3 separate regions of the Homo sapiens genome follow, and regions 2 and 3 are each linked to region 1. The links are contacts of gene promoters, found by promoter capture Hi-C in human tissues and cell types (Jung and others, 2019). All regions are on one chromosome and are shown on one strand. The core of a region is centred on a gene start or on the middle of the fragment in contact, and the rest is flanking DNA. Distances in the headings are between cores, read along the strand shown. Region 1 holds the start of RPS20 (ribosomal protein S20). Region 2 overlaps XKR4 (XK related 4). Region 3 overlaps BPNT2 (3'(2'), 5'-bisphosphate nucleotidase 2).

Region 1 (4,383 bases), core at 1,812-4,311:
CTCGAGCTTCTGACTCCAGGTGACCTACCCGCCTCAGCCTCCCAAAGGCTAGGATTACAGGTGTGAGCCACCATTCCCGGCCAGAATTTCCTTCTTTTTTAAGGCTGAATAATATTGATCCATTCAGGCTGGGCACGGTGGCTCACACCTGTAATCCTAGCACTTTGGAAGGCTGAGGTGGGCAGATAACCTGAGGTCAGGAGTTCAAGACCAGCCTGGCCAACATGGTGAAACCTCGTCTCTACCGAAAATACAAAAATTAGCCGGGCATGGTGGTGCCTGCCTGAACTTCCAGCTACTTGGGAGGCTGAGGCAGGAGGATTGCTTGAACCCAGGAGGTGGAGGTTGCAGTGTGCCGAGATCGCACCACTGCGCTCCAGCCTGAGCAACAGAGTAAGACTCTGTTTCCAAAGAAAAAAAAGATCCATTCATCTGTTGCTGGACACCTAGGTCATTTCCTGACCTTAGCTACTGTAAATAATGCTGCAATAAACATGGGAGTGCAGGTATCTCTTCTAGATACCAATTTCATTTTCTTTGGGTATATACCCAGAAGTGGGATGGCTGGTTCACATGGAAGTTCCATTTTTAATTTTTTGAGGACCCTCCATACTGTTTTCCAAAAAAAAAAAATTTCCATTACTTTTGTCTAATATTATCTTAACCATTTGTTTCCTTAGTTCTAGTCACATCAGCCATTTTTCACATACCTGCTGGGCCACATTTTGCTTTTCTCTATAAAGAAATTTCCTCGTTTACTATCAAAGTAGTTAACTTGTTCACCAGTTCCTCAAATACTTAAAGGATGAGGTAAGCCTAAGAAAAAGATGTACCAGATTTGTTATAAAAAAAAAATCACACTTGTACAAAATTACAATTGTACTTCTCAATGAAATTCCTTCATTGAATTTCCAGTCATCTTTGAGCATTAGTAAAACATGAATGCCGCTGTATATGTTCACTTAAAATATGCACAGTCACCTCCAGGCAGTACTACAGCGGTGGCTGATCACACCCCAGGGAGCAGGGCAATTGTGCTTTTGTCTATTTGTCGCACACAGCCATACCAATAAGTTAAACCTCTAAGTTATGAAGTCTCAGGTTACAGCTAGCACAATAAGAATGCAGGTTTTCAGAATTTCTGCTGAAAATTCTACTAAGAGAGTATTTACAGACAATGGATTACATTTAAAAATAACTGAACTGGGGCCGGGATAGGTGGCTCACACCTGTAATCCCAGCACTTTGGGAGGCCAAGGCAGGCAGATCGCGAGTTCAGGAGATTGAGACCATCCTGGCTAACACGGTGAAACACCGTCTCTAGTAAAAACACAAAAAATTAGCTGAGAGTGGTGCCACGTGCCTGTGGTCCCAGCTACTCGGGAGGCTGAGGCAGGAGAATTGCTTGAACCCAGGAGGTGGAGGTTGCGGGGAGCCAAAATCGTGCCACTGCATCCAGCCTCGGCGACAGAGCGAGACTCCATCTCAAAAAACAAACAAACAAAAAACCCAAAAAACTGAACTGGAAAACATCCAAATTTGAAAATTTAAAATAATTGTTAAAATGGCAGCAAAAAACCTCATACGTATCGTGAGCCAAAGAAACCCAGTTATTAGTTATGTTCCAATTATCACCAAATAAGACAATGCTATTATTTGATTAAAGTTTCAAACATAATTTCCTACCAAGGAACAGAAGACAAAACCTCAAGAAAGAGTCCTGACGGGGCGAGCGCGGTGGCTCACGCCTGTAATCCCAGCACTTTGGGAGGCCGAGGCGGGCCTGAGATCTGGAGTTTGAGACCAGCATGATCAACATGGAGAAACCCCGTCTCTACTAAAAAAAAAAAAAAAAAAAAAAAAATTAGCCGGGCATGGTGGCGCATGCCTGTAATCCCAGCTACTCCGGAGGCTGAGGCAGGAGAATCGCTTGAACCCAGGAGGCGGAGTTTGCGGTGAGCCGAGATCGCGCCATGGCACTCCAGCCTGGGCAACAAGAATGAAACTCCGTCTCACAAAAAAAAAAAAACAAAACAAACAAAAAAAAAAAACAACAAACAGGCCTGGACGGAGGGGTCAGAGCTCTGTCCCTCCCCATTTCAGAGTGTTTGAGCAAATAACTCTTTCGGCTCAGAGCTTCAGGTGGAAAGTAATATGAGATGATTTTACTCTTCTTTCTGCCCTGTATCAAAATCCATCTCAGTGATTTCCACGTATTTAGCCCCGGCTTCTTGCTCAGGTGTAGGTGAGCTCACCCTGCGCTCTCTCCCACTGCTCAGCTCAGTTGACCATTCGGGTTTTCCACTATACTTGGTCACTTATGTGATTATGAACAGATGTTCAGTATTAAGAAGACCCTGGGGGATCTTATCCAATGACTTTATCCAACAGAAAGGAGATGAGGTATCAGGACTGGGTGGCTAGCCAGGTTCCAGGCCGGGCCTCAGGATAGCTGCGCAGCCTGGCATTTTCGCCTCACTTTCCAGAAGGACGAGAAGCCAAGTTCAGGTCCTTTCCAGAAATAGATGTAGATACTTCTGCTGGACTGGGAAGCCAGGAGCTGAAATATCACAACAGGACGTTTCAGGCTATGAAAAATAACTGCTTACTAATTCTAACGTAAGTTATCCAGATTACGAGAAGCATTTCTGCCAATGCTCATGTCAGCTAAGCTCAGAGAAGTTACCTCATCCTCAGAGAGCAACGAATGGTATGGTCTATGTAGAAAGCAAAATTTGCAACGGAAAAACCAGAGTTCGTGTGCACTTTATGAGGAAGAGGGTTAGGTGCACCAGACAGAGGAGTTTCTCAGGTTTCCGTGTCGCCTGTTCTCTCGACCAGGTGGCCCTCTCGGCGCAGGCGGGGACCCCACCCTGCGGGACTTCGGCTCCTCCGTGCGGACAGGGGGCGCCCGCAGCCGTGCCTTTCCCGCCAACTCCACTAGTGCTCCAGCTCGCCCTTGTGCGACCGCCTCTAGGGCCCGGGATATTTCCTGTTCCGGGGCGTGTGGGACCCGGATGCAAGCGTGCTATATAAGCGTTGCTCAAGTCCCACCCCTTTCTTTTTGAGGAAGACGCGGTCGTAAGGGCTGAGGATTTTTGGTCCGCACGCTCCTGCTCCTGACTCACCGCTGTTCGCTCTCGCCGAGGAACAAGTCGGTCAGGAAGCCCGCGCGCAACAGCCATGGTGAGGCGGCAGTCGGCGGCGGGCGGCGCAACGCAGGGCTCGGGCGCCGGGGGGACCCCGGTTTCGAGTTCGTGCTCCTGAGGGCAGATGCCGGGGCGTGTAGGGGCGGAAAGGCGCTCCTGAAATGGTGGGGAAACGCGGGAAGCTTCCGGAAGCTGCCTTTCTCCAGAAGTGGCAGACCATTTTTGGCTTATTGTTCTTTTTCATGTATCTAATAATAGGCTTTTAAGGATACCGGAAAAACACCCGTGGAGCCGGAGGTGGCAATTCACCGAATTCGAATCACCCTAACAAGCCGCAACGTAAAATCCTTGGAAAAGGGTCAGTGCATTCGTTATGCGGGGGGGAGGGGGAATTGGGCGAAAAGCGACGAGCTTTACTCGTTAATGTTAGTGTAGAAGGTGGACTGCAAGAACTAAAGTGACAAGTTACTTAAAAAAGTAAAGCGTGGCTTAAAATTGCTTTTACTGTCATACAGCTGGCGATGAGGAGGTACCTATTGTGTTGAGTAACGGTGATAATTTTATACGCTATTCTGAGCCAGCAGAAGTGAAGGCCTTAAGCCGATTTTAATTGTTTCGATTATACTGAGAGGTCTTTTATTTCCTGTAGTGTGTGCTGACTTGATAAGAGGCGCAAAAGAAAAGAATCTCAAAGTGAAAGGACCAGTTCGAATGCCTACCAAGGTAAAGTAAATCGGAGGGGCAGGAAGTAGGAGTTGCTTCCGGATGTTGCATAAATTCAGGTTCTTTAAGGAGTTCGGCTGCCAAAATTGTTAACACTGATGCTGTCTACAAACGCACATAGAAATCGGTGGTAGATTGCGGTTCCTAGTAAGTAGCTAATGTTTAGATATGATTGTTGAATTATTGTTGCTGTGTTCTTGGTGTGCTTTGGTGCTTAACAGGCGCAAGCTCTAAGGGTGGTGTCCTAGCACAGTGAAAACAGACCTGGCATTTTCAACCCATGGTACCTGAAAATCTATTAGTGTAAATTGGAATCATACCAAAGGGAAACTAATGAAATGATTAGAAGTAATGATTTTCCAGATGTTCTAGGGATAAGTATAAAACGATAAACACTTGGTTTCCTTTGTCTTTTGTTACAGACTTTGAGAATCACTACAAGAAAAACTCCTTGTGGTGAAGGTTCTAAGACGTGGGATCGTTTCCAGATGAGAATTCACAAGCGACTCAT
Region 2 (3,964 bases), core at 1,302-3,801, 570 kb after region 1:
ACTTGTAGAAAAGACTTGAACCAGATAATCATAAAGAAACATATCTCAGTAAATGATTGACAGAGAATAAGAAAAAAAAGTGACACCACAACCCTAAGCTAATATTAACTGAGCTTCCAAGAAGCCAAAGTGAAAAAAAAATTTAATGAGTTAAATAATTCTTGTCATTGGATAAAAGAAAGTAGTAATTGTCCTTGTGGAATATTCTGTCAGCAGTGAACCAGCATAGTCACTGCATTTTCCATGGAGTGCAATAAATGCTGCATTCACAGTCTATTGCTTGCATTATATACTTCATCAGAAATCTAAACCAACTCGTATACACAGTAGGTCTGTATGGACTTTTCATCTCTGAGTTGAAACACAATGAGGGCAGAATGGACTTCATGTCTGAGTCAAGCAGGCACAAAATCAGCTTTTCTCAGATATTAGTTAGGGAAAGGGGAAGTAGGTAATGGGCAGATAATGGACTGGTATGCACATTAAATTATCTCTACACTATTAACAAGATGAGATCTTAAACAAAGATGGTGCAAGGTGGAAGATGGGGTGTTGACCTTCCTAGGGCTTCAGCCAGGCTCTTAATAAGACACTAAGAGAAAGGAAGGCATACATGAAGTCAGTGCTGCTGCTGGGGGTAGTGACTGATCAAGGCACTGCAGTACAGGTCTATAGTGTGTGCCTGATCTGCAGCTTTTCCTTCTGGCTGAGGTCTTGAGTGGGAAACCTTGTGGCTGGTATCTGATTTTTGCTGTGAGCCTTTCAGGCCTATCTATTTGATCTCTAGTTAGTAGAGATGCCAGACTGATTCAGGAGTCCTCTCCTTACATCACCCACTGTCCTAAGTCCTCCCAGATGCCCTGTGGACTGAGAGAAAACACCTGTTGTTTAATTTGCATTTCATGCATTCGTGGGAGAGGGGGCACACAAACACAAAAAACCTCTGAAAGGATACAGGCTGTGTTTTGCAAGGGGAATCTCATTCTGTCTTTCAATTACTTCAGAGTTATAAAATGGTGGCTACTGCCAGTTAGAAGTTAAAGCATTTGCACACATTTATGTTGAGCAGTGCAGAACCTGTATGACCACATATGACAGCTCTTGAAAAAGTTGCTTTAAAAGTTCAAATATATATTTTGATATAGGAAGATTATTTGGTGTCATGATGGACATGGCCTGATTTAAAACAAATTACTTCATGTATCTTAGTATCTGTTTTAGTTTTCCTGTTTTTAAAAATCAGGTTGTTCAACCAAAAAGAAGATTAATAAGGAAATAGAGGACTTCAGCAGAAAATACATTTTTCTTAAGCACACATGCAACATTCTCCAGGATAGACCATACATTAGGCCACAAAACAGGTCCTAAACCATTTCAAAGGACTGAAATTATAGAAAGTATCTTTTCGGATCACAATGAGATGAAACTAGAAATAAATAGCAGAGGGAAATCTGTAAAATTCACAAATACATGGAAATTAAACTACATACTCTTTATTTTTATTTTTTAAAAATTTGTTTGTTTTTGAGATGGGGTCTTGTTCTGTTGCCCAGGCAGGAGTATCATGGTGCAATCATAGCTCACTGCAACCTGGAACTCCTGGGCTCAAGGGATCCTCCTATATCAGCTTCTCAGGTAGCTGGGACTATGGGTGTGTGCCATCATGCCTGGCTATTTTATTTTATTTTATTTTATTTAGTAGAGATGAAGTCTTGCTATGTTGCCCAGGCTTAAACAACATACTCTTAACCAGTGGGTCAAAGAAGAAATCACAAGGGAAATTATAAAATATCTTGAGACAAATAAAAATGAAAAAACAACGCAGCAAAAACTAATAGATGCAGCAAAAACTAATAGATGCAGCAAAGCAATGCTAAGCTAAAACATCTATAGATATAAATGCTCACATTGAAAAATAAGGTCTCAAATCAATAATCTAGCTTTACACCTTAAAAAACTATAAAAAGTAGAACAAACTAAACACAAAGCTTGCCGGAGAAAGGAAATAATAATAATTAGAGCAGAAATAAAATAGAGAATAGAAAAACAATAGAGAAAATCAAGAAAACCAAAAGTTAGTTCTTTAAAAGGATCAACAAAATTGACAAAATCTTTAGCTAGATTAAGAAAAAAAAAGAACCTCAATTATTAAAATCAGTAGCAAAAGTTGGGACATCACTACGAATTTTACAGAAGTAAAAAGAATTATAAGAGAATACTATGAAGAGTTGTATGCCAATTAGAATTGGGTAATCTAAAAGAAGTGGACAAATTCCTAGAAATACAAAATCTACCAAGACTGAATCATAAAGAAATAAAAAATTTGAACAGACCTATCACTAGTAAGGAGATAACATCTGTTAGGCAAAACCATCTAACAAAGAAAAGCCCAGGGATCTGATGGATTCCCTGGTAAATTTTACCAAATATTTAAAGAGGAATTACCATAAATCCTTCTCAAATACTCTCAAAATACTGAAAAGAAGGGAACAATTCCTACTTCATTCAAGAATTACCTTTATACCAAAGCCAGATAGAAACACTACAAGTAAAGAAAACTACAGCTGGGAACGGTGGCTCACGCCTGTAATCCCAACACTTTGGGAGGCTGAGGTGGGCAGATTGCCTGAGATCAGGAGTTGGAGACCAGTCTGGCCAACATGGTGAAACCCCATCTCTACTAAAAAAAAAAAAAAATTAGCCAGGTGTGGTGGGGTGTGCCTGTAATCCTAGCTACTTGGGAGGCTGAGACAGGGGAATTGCTTGAGCCAGGGAGGTGGAGGTTGCAGTGAGCTGAGATCGCATCACTGCACTCCAGCCTGGGCGACAGAGTGAGACTCTGTCTCAAACAAAACAAAACAAAACAAAACAAAACAAAACAAAACAAAAACAACAACAACAACAAAAAAGAAAACTACAAACCAATATCCCTTATGAACATTGATGCAAAAATCCTCAACAAAATACTGGCAAACTGCATTCAGTAGCATATTAAACGGATTTTGTACCATGACCAAGTAGGATTTATTCCTGAAATACAAGGATGATTTAAGATATAAAAATTAATTAATGTAATACAGCACATTAACAGAATGGAGGGGGAAAACACACCACATTATCATCTCAATAGATGCAAAAAAAGCATTTGACAAAATTTAACACTATTTCAAGATTAAAAAAACTCAACAAACTAAGAATAGAAGGAAACTACCTCATCATAATAAAGGCCATAAACGAAAAGCCCACAGCTAAAAAAATACTTGATGGTAAAAGACTGAAAGCTTTTCTTCTAAGGTCAAGAAAAAGACAAGGATGCCCACTTTTGCAACTTCTCTTCAAAGTAGTATTAAAAGTCCCAGTCAGAGCAATTAGGCAAGAAAATGAAATAAAAGACATGCAAATGAGAAAAGAAGAATTAAAATTATCTCTGAATAGATAACATAATTTGTAGACAATTCTAAAGATTCCACAAAAAACATGACAGAACTAATAAGTCAATATTGCAAAGTTGCAGGATAAAAAATAAATATAAAATCAGTTGTGCTTCTATATGCTAACAGTGGACAACATGAATATATTTGCAATACATGTAATGGAAACATGAAAAGGAAATTAAGAAAAAATTTCATTTATAATAGCTTGAAAAAGAATAAAATACTTATAAATTAACCAAAGAAGCAAAAGGTATGTATATTGAAAACTACAAAATGTTGCTAAAGGAAATGAAAGAAGCCATAAATAAGTGGAAAGATATCCTGTTTTCATGGGTTAGAAGTCTTAATATTGTTAAGATGTCAATACTACCCAAAGTGATCTACAGACTCAGAGAAATACCTATCACAATGACATTTTTTACAAAAATAGAAAAATCCATCCTAAAATTCGTATGGAATCACAGAGGTCCCAGAAAAGCAAAAATAATCTTGAAAAAAAAATTTGAATCACAATTTCTGATTTGAAAGCT
Region 3 (3,930 bases), core at 1,118-3,617, 900 kb before region 1:
GTCATAAAAGAAGTCAAAAGCAGTCTTGAATAATGAGAACCTTTCTTCCAGATTGTCTAAAATCAATTTATTTTCTGGCACTGCTTCTTCTACATCTTCTTTCTCATCGTCTAGCCCTGGTTTGAAGCACTCATCTCCATCAAGTCGTCTTCTGTTAATCCTCTGGTGTGGTGTCTGTTCACTCTTGAATGTCTCCAAGATCCCTATCTTGAAACCCTCTACGCCCCACCTTTTAAAAATAATATCTGCACTCTCATGATTTTCTTGATTGCCTCTGTTGTAAATCTTGTGGAGACATGCACAACATCTGGACAGTTTTTTCCAGCAGGAACTTATTATTTTGGGCTTGACGAATTCATGGGTTTTCTATAACAGTGGCATCTTTAGTGGTGTAATCCTTCCAGACTTTGAATGATTTTCTCTGTCAGGGTTCTCTACTATTGGTATTGACAGTCCTTTCCATAGAGTACTTTGTATAATGAGCCTTAAAGGTCCTTATGACCTCCTGCTCTAGAGGCTGGATTAGAGACGTAGTGTTTGGGGGCAAGTAAATCACTTGATGCTTTTAGTGTTGAACTCATGGGGTTCTCGGTAGCCAGGGGCATTGTCCAGTACTCAAAGAACTTTAAAAGGCAGTCCCTTACTGGCAAAGTACTTTCAGACTTCAGGGTCAAAGCATCAGTGGACTCAATCCAGAAAAAGGATTCTTGTTGTCCAGGCCTTCTTGTTGTAGTCAGAAGACTAGCAAGCAGCTGGTGTTTTATCTTTTCCTTTCAAGACTCGGGGGTTAGCGGTTTTGTAGATAAGGGCTGTCCTGGTCATAAACCTGACTGCATTATACAAAACAGTAGAGTTAGCCCATCCCTTCCTGTCTTAAATCCTAGTGCTCATTTCTCTTCCTTACTAATAAATGTATTTTGTGGCCCCTTTTTTAAATTTTTTTTTTTTTTCCAGAATAGGACACTTGTCTGCATTGAAAACCTGTTCAAGCAGACAGAACTCAGTGATTTTCTTAATGGCATCTGGGGACTTGTCTGCTGCCTCTTGGTTGGTAGAAGCTGCTACTCCTGTTATCTTGGCATTTTTAAAAACCAGACCTCTTTCTAAAATTATCAAACCATCCTTTACTGGCATTAAATAATCCAGCTTTAGATTCTTCACCTTCCTTTTTTTTAAAGTTGTCATATGACTTCATTTTTTCTTGAATCATACTACAGTCTTTAGGCATGTAGCAGTTTTATACCCACATAATAGCTGCATTTTCAATATGAGATAAAAAGGTATTTCATTAAAAAGTGTTAAGGTTTTTGCACCTGTTGGTGTGTAGCTTCAGCAATGGCTTCATGAGTTTTCTTGTTTTTTTTTTCCCACAATTATTCTTACGCTGTATTCATTTATCTTGAGATAGCAGGCAGCCACAGTTACAGACCTCAATCTGTGGTGTATATCAAGCAATTCAACTTTTTCTTGTAATGTCATGATTTTTCTCTAGGTGGGAGCACTTCCGGCATCACTAGTGGCTCTTCAAATGAGTCTCATGGGTGTTATTCAAAGTTTGCATTAAACACTATGAAATTGTACTAAACACTATGAAAAATATGCAAAACCCACAAAAGATCACTTTTTACCATGATGAGCAGTTTGCCGGAGAGACAAACTGCTCACACAGAGATGATTACATCACGTAGGGTTTCTTTTTTTTTTTCTTTTTTTTGAGACGGAGTCTCGCTCGGCTGGAGTGCAGTGGCGTGATCTCAGCCCACTGCAGGCTCCACCTCCCAGGTTCACGCCATTCTCCTGCCTCAGCCTCCCGAGTAGCTGGAACTGCAGATGCCTGACACCACGCCCGGCTAATTTTTTGTATTTTTAGTAGAGACGGGGTATCACCATGTTAGCCAGGATGGTCTCGATCTTCTGACCTCATGATCCGCCCTCCTCAGCCTCCCAAAGTCACATAGGGTTTTAAGTGGGTGCTCATGACACTTGGGCCCACACAGTAGCATTGTGGGGGGGGGGGTGGTACAAAATTATTTCAGTAATACATACTATAATTTTGTGCAGTTTATGATTTTACATTTGTTTACATTTCTCTTAACTGTGAATGGCACTACGTATGTATGGTCTGTAAGTGCTTGTGTGCTTAAGTTTTGGTAAGTTTTAACTTCTTATACTTTGTGTATATTTTATGGTAGTAAATGACAAAATAAGCTAGTTCCAACATATTTTATGCATTCATAACATACCTAGCTTTTTCTTAAATTTTTAATATTTCTAGGCTACTTAATTTGTCCGTGAATTTTTTTCAAATCGTCACAAATCTCCAAAAAGCTTACCAAAATATTTATTGAAAAATATCTGGATGTAAGGGGAGCCACACAGTTCAAACCTGTGTTGTTCAAGGGTCAAGTGTATATTCACTCGGTGGAAATTTTATAGCTATTAATAATAAATTGTTATTTCTGAAGTAGGTGTAGGAACGTACCAACCAACCACTTTTTATTTCCTACTGGGCTTTTTTTTTTTTTTTTTTAAGCTTATCTTACAGGTAAAATAAACACATTTTGTAGCTGCTCTTCTGCCTTACCACTATACCTCATTATCATCCATCATTTACATTTATTTAAGCACCTACTGTACTAGACACTTGAAATAATTATGTTCATGTAAGTGTTACTAATAAATGTATTGAGTTTATGTAACATGAAGAACATTTTTAAAAATACTAAGTCAGCAATTCTTACATTATTCTGGTAGTATGTACTGAGATATGCTATAATATTTTTATTCTCTTACACAATACTGACCTCTAGAGATAAAGCACTGTAAATTCACTTCTTAGTAAAACTGGTTTTTGGAATATTTATGAAAAGGATTAAGAGGATTTTTTGTTTTGTTCTCTTCATTTTTTTTTACTTTTATGAATAATTTCAAACAAACGTAAAATTATAATGAATACTTATATACCCCTTCATCCTGATTTAGCAGTTGATAACAGTTTTACATATTTGCTTTCCTATTTTTTGGCCTGTGTACCTTAAAGAAAATTATAAGGATCATAATAAACATTTTACCCTTATACTTCAGTATGCATCTCTAAAAAGTAAGGAGATTTTCTACAAAAGGACAGTATATTAATATAATAAAATTAACAGTTATTTCCTAATGTCATCAAATATTTACATTTCCCCGATTGCTGCTAAAATGGATTTTACAGCTGATTGCTTCAAACCAAGATCCAGTCAACCAACAAGCATTTATTTTGGTTGATAGGTTGTTAAGGTTTCTTAATCTAGAACAACCCCTAGGCCCCTTATGCCCCCCATGACATTGATGTTGGGAAGCTTAAGTCATTTCTCCTTTAGAATGGTCTGTCTTTTGGACTTGTCTGATTGTTTCCAAAGGGTGTCATTTAACTTCTTTATTTTTATATCCTCTTATAAAAAGTGCAGATTAGATCTGAATCCTTGATTGGATTGAGGTTAAGCATTTTTGTCATGAATACATTGTAGGTATTTTTCACATACTTCCTACTGCATCATATTACACAATACTTGTCTCGCCATTCATGATGCTCAGATGATTAAAGTGTTCATGACCTGATCTCTTAGTTACAAAATTTTTATTTTTTTGCTACTAGCAAGTAATCTGGAGAGATTTTGACATCATTTGAGATCCAGTTTTATTAAACCTTTTGCATAATAGTTTTAAGCTCTATTAAAGATGTTATAAAATGAGATTTTCTGTTTCTGTTGTTTCTACATATATTAGCATGAATTCTTCTATAGAGAATTTTCTCTATTAACTGGAATTAATTTGTTTATCCTGAAATGTTTCTTCTAGAAAAGCGGGATAAATGTTTAATTCTTTTACTTTATTTACCAATTTTCAGAGTAAGGAGTTAGAGTATAGAACCCTTCCAGCGGTAACATG

What was found. The method cuts DNA at HindIII sites, captures the fragments that hold promoters and counts their contacts. A contact is called where the count stands out against the background at its distance.
Region 2: a fragment that was not itself captured here is called in contact with the fragment with the promoter of RPS20 in region 1 in 1 of the 25 tissues and cell types used here (mesenchymal stem cells).
Region 3: a contact is called between a fragment that was not itself captured here and the fragment with the promoter of RPS20 in region 1, in 1 of the 25 tissues and cell types used here (hippocampus).

Annotation. Positions count from the first base shown.
Region 1 is chr8:56,073,184-56,077,566 of GRCh38, reverse strand. RPS20 (ribosomal protein S20) reads left to right here and starts at 3,061. Exons shown (of 4, transcript NM_001023.4): 1 at 3,061-3,186; 2 at 3,408-3,507; 3 at 3,799-3,872; 4 at 4,295-4,383. The coding sequence starts at 3,184. SNORD54 (small nucleolar RNA, C/D box 54) reads left to right here and starts at 3,666; the gene lies at 3,666-3,728. It overlaps CERNA3 (competing endogenous lncRNA 3 for miR-645), which reads right to left and starts at 2,975. Exons shown (of 2, transcript NR_149110.1): 1 at 2,687-2,975; 2 at 2,293-2,560. The HindIII fragment of the contact is 21,018 bases long and covers 1-4,383 here.
Region 2 is chr8:55,503,113-55,507,076 of GRCh38, reverse strand. All of the region lies in intron 2 of XKR4 (XK related 4), which reads right to left. Among named protein-coding and RNA genes, the nearest start is that of XKR4-AS1, 16 kb to the left of the region's middle. The HindIII fragment of the contact is 3,129 bases long and covers 987-3,964 here.
Region 3 is chr8:56,969,870-56,973,799 of GRCh38, reverse strand. The region is part of intron 3 of BPNT2 (3'(2'), 5'-bisphosphate nucleotidase 2); the gene reads left to right. Among named protein-coding and RNA genes, the nearest start is that of BPNT2, 22 kb to the left of the region's middle. The HindIII fragment of the contact is 3,036 bases long and covers 850-3,885 here.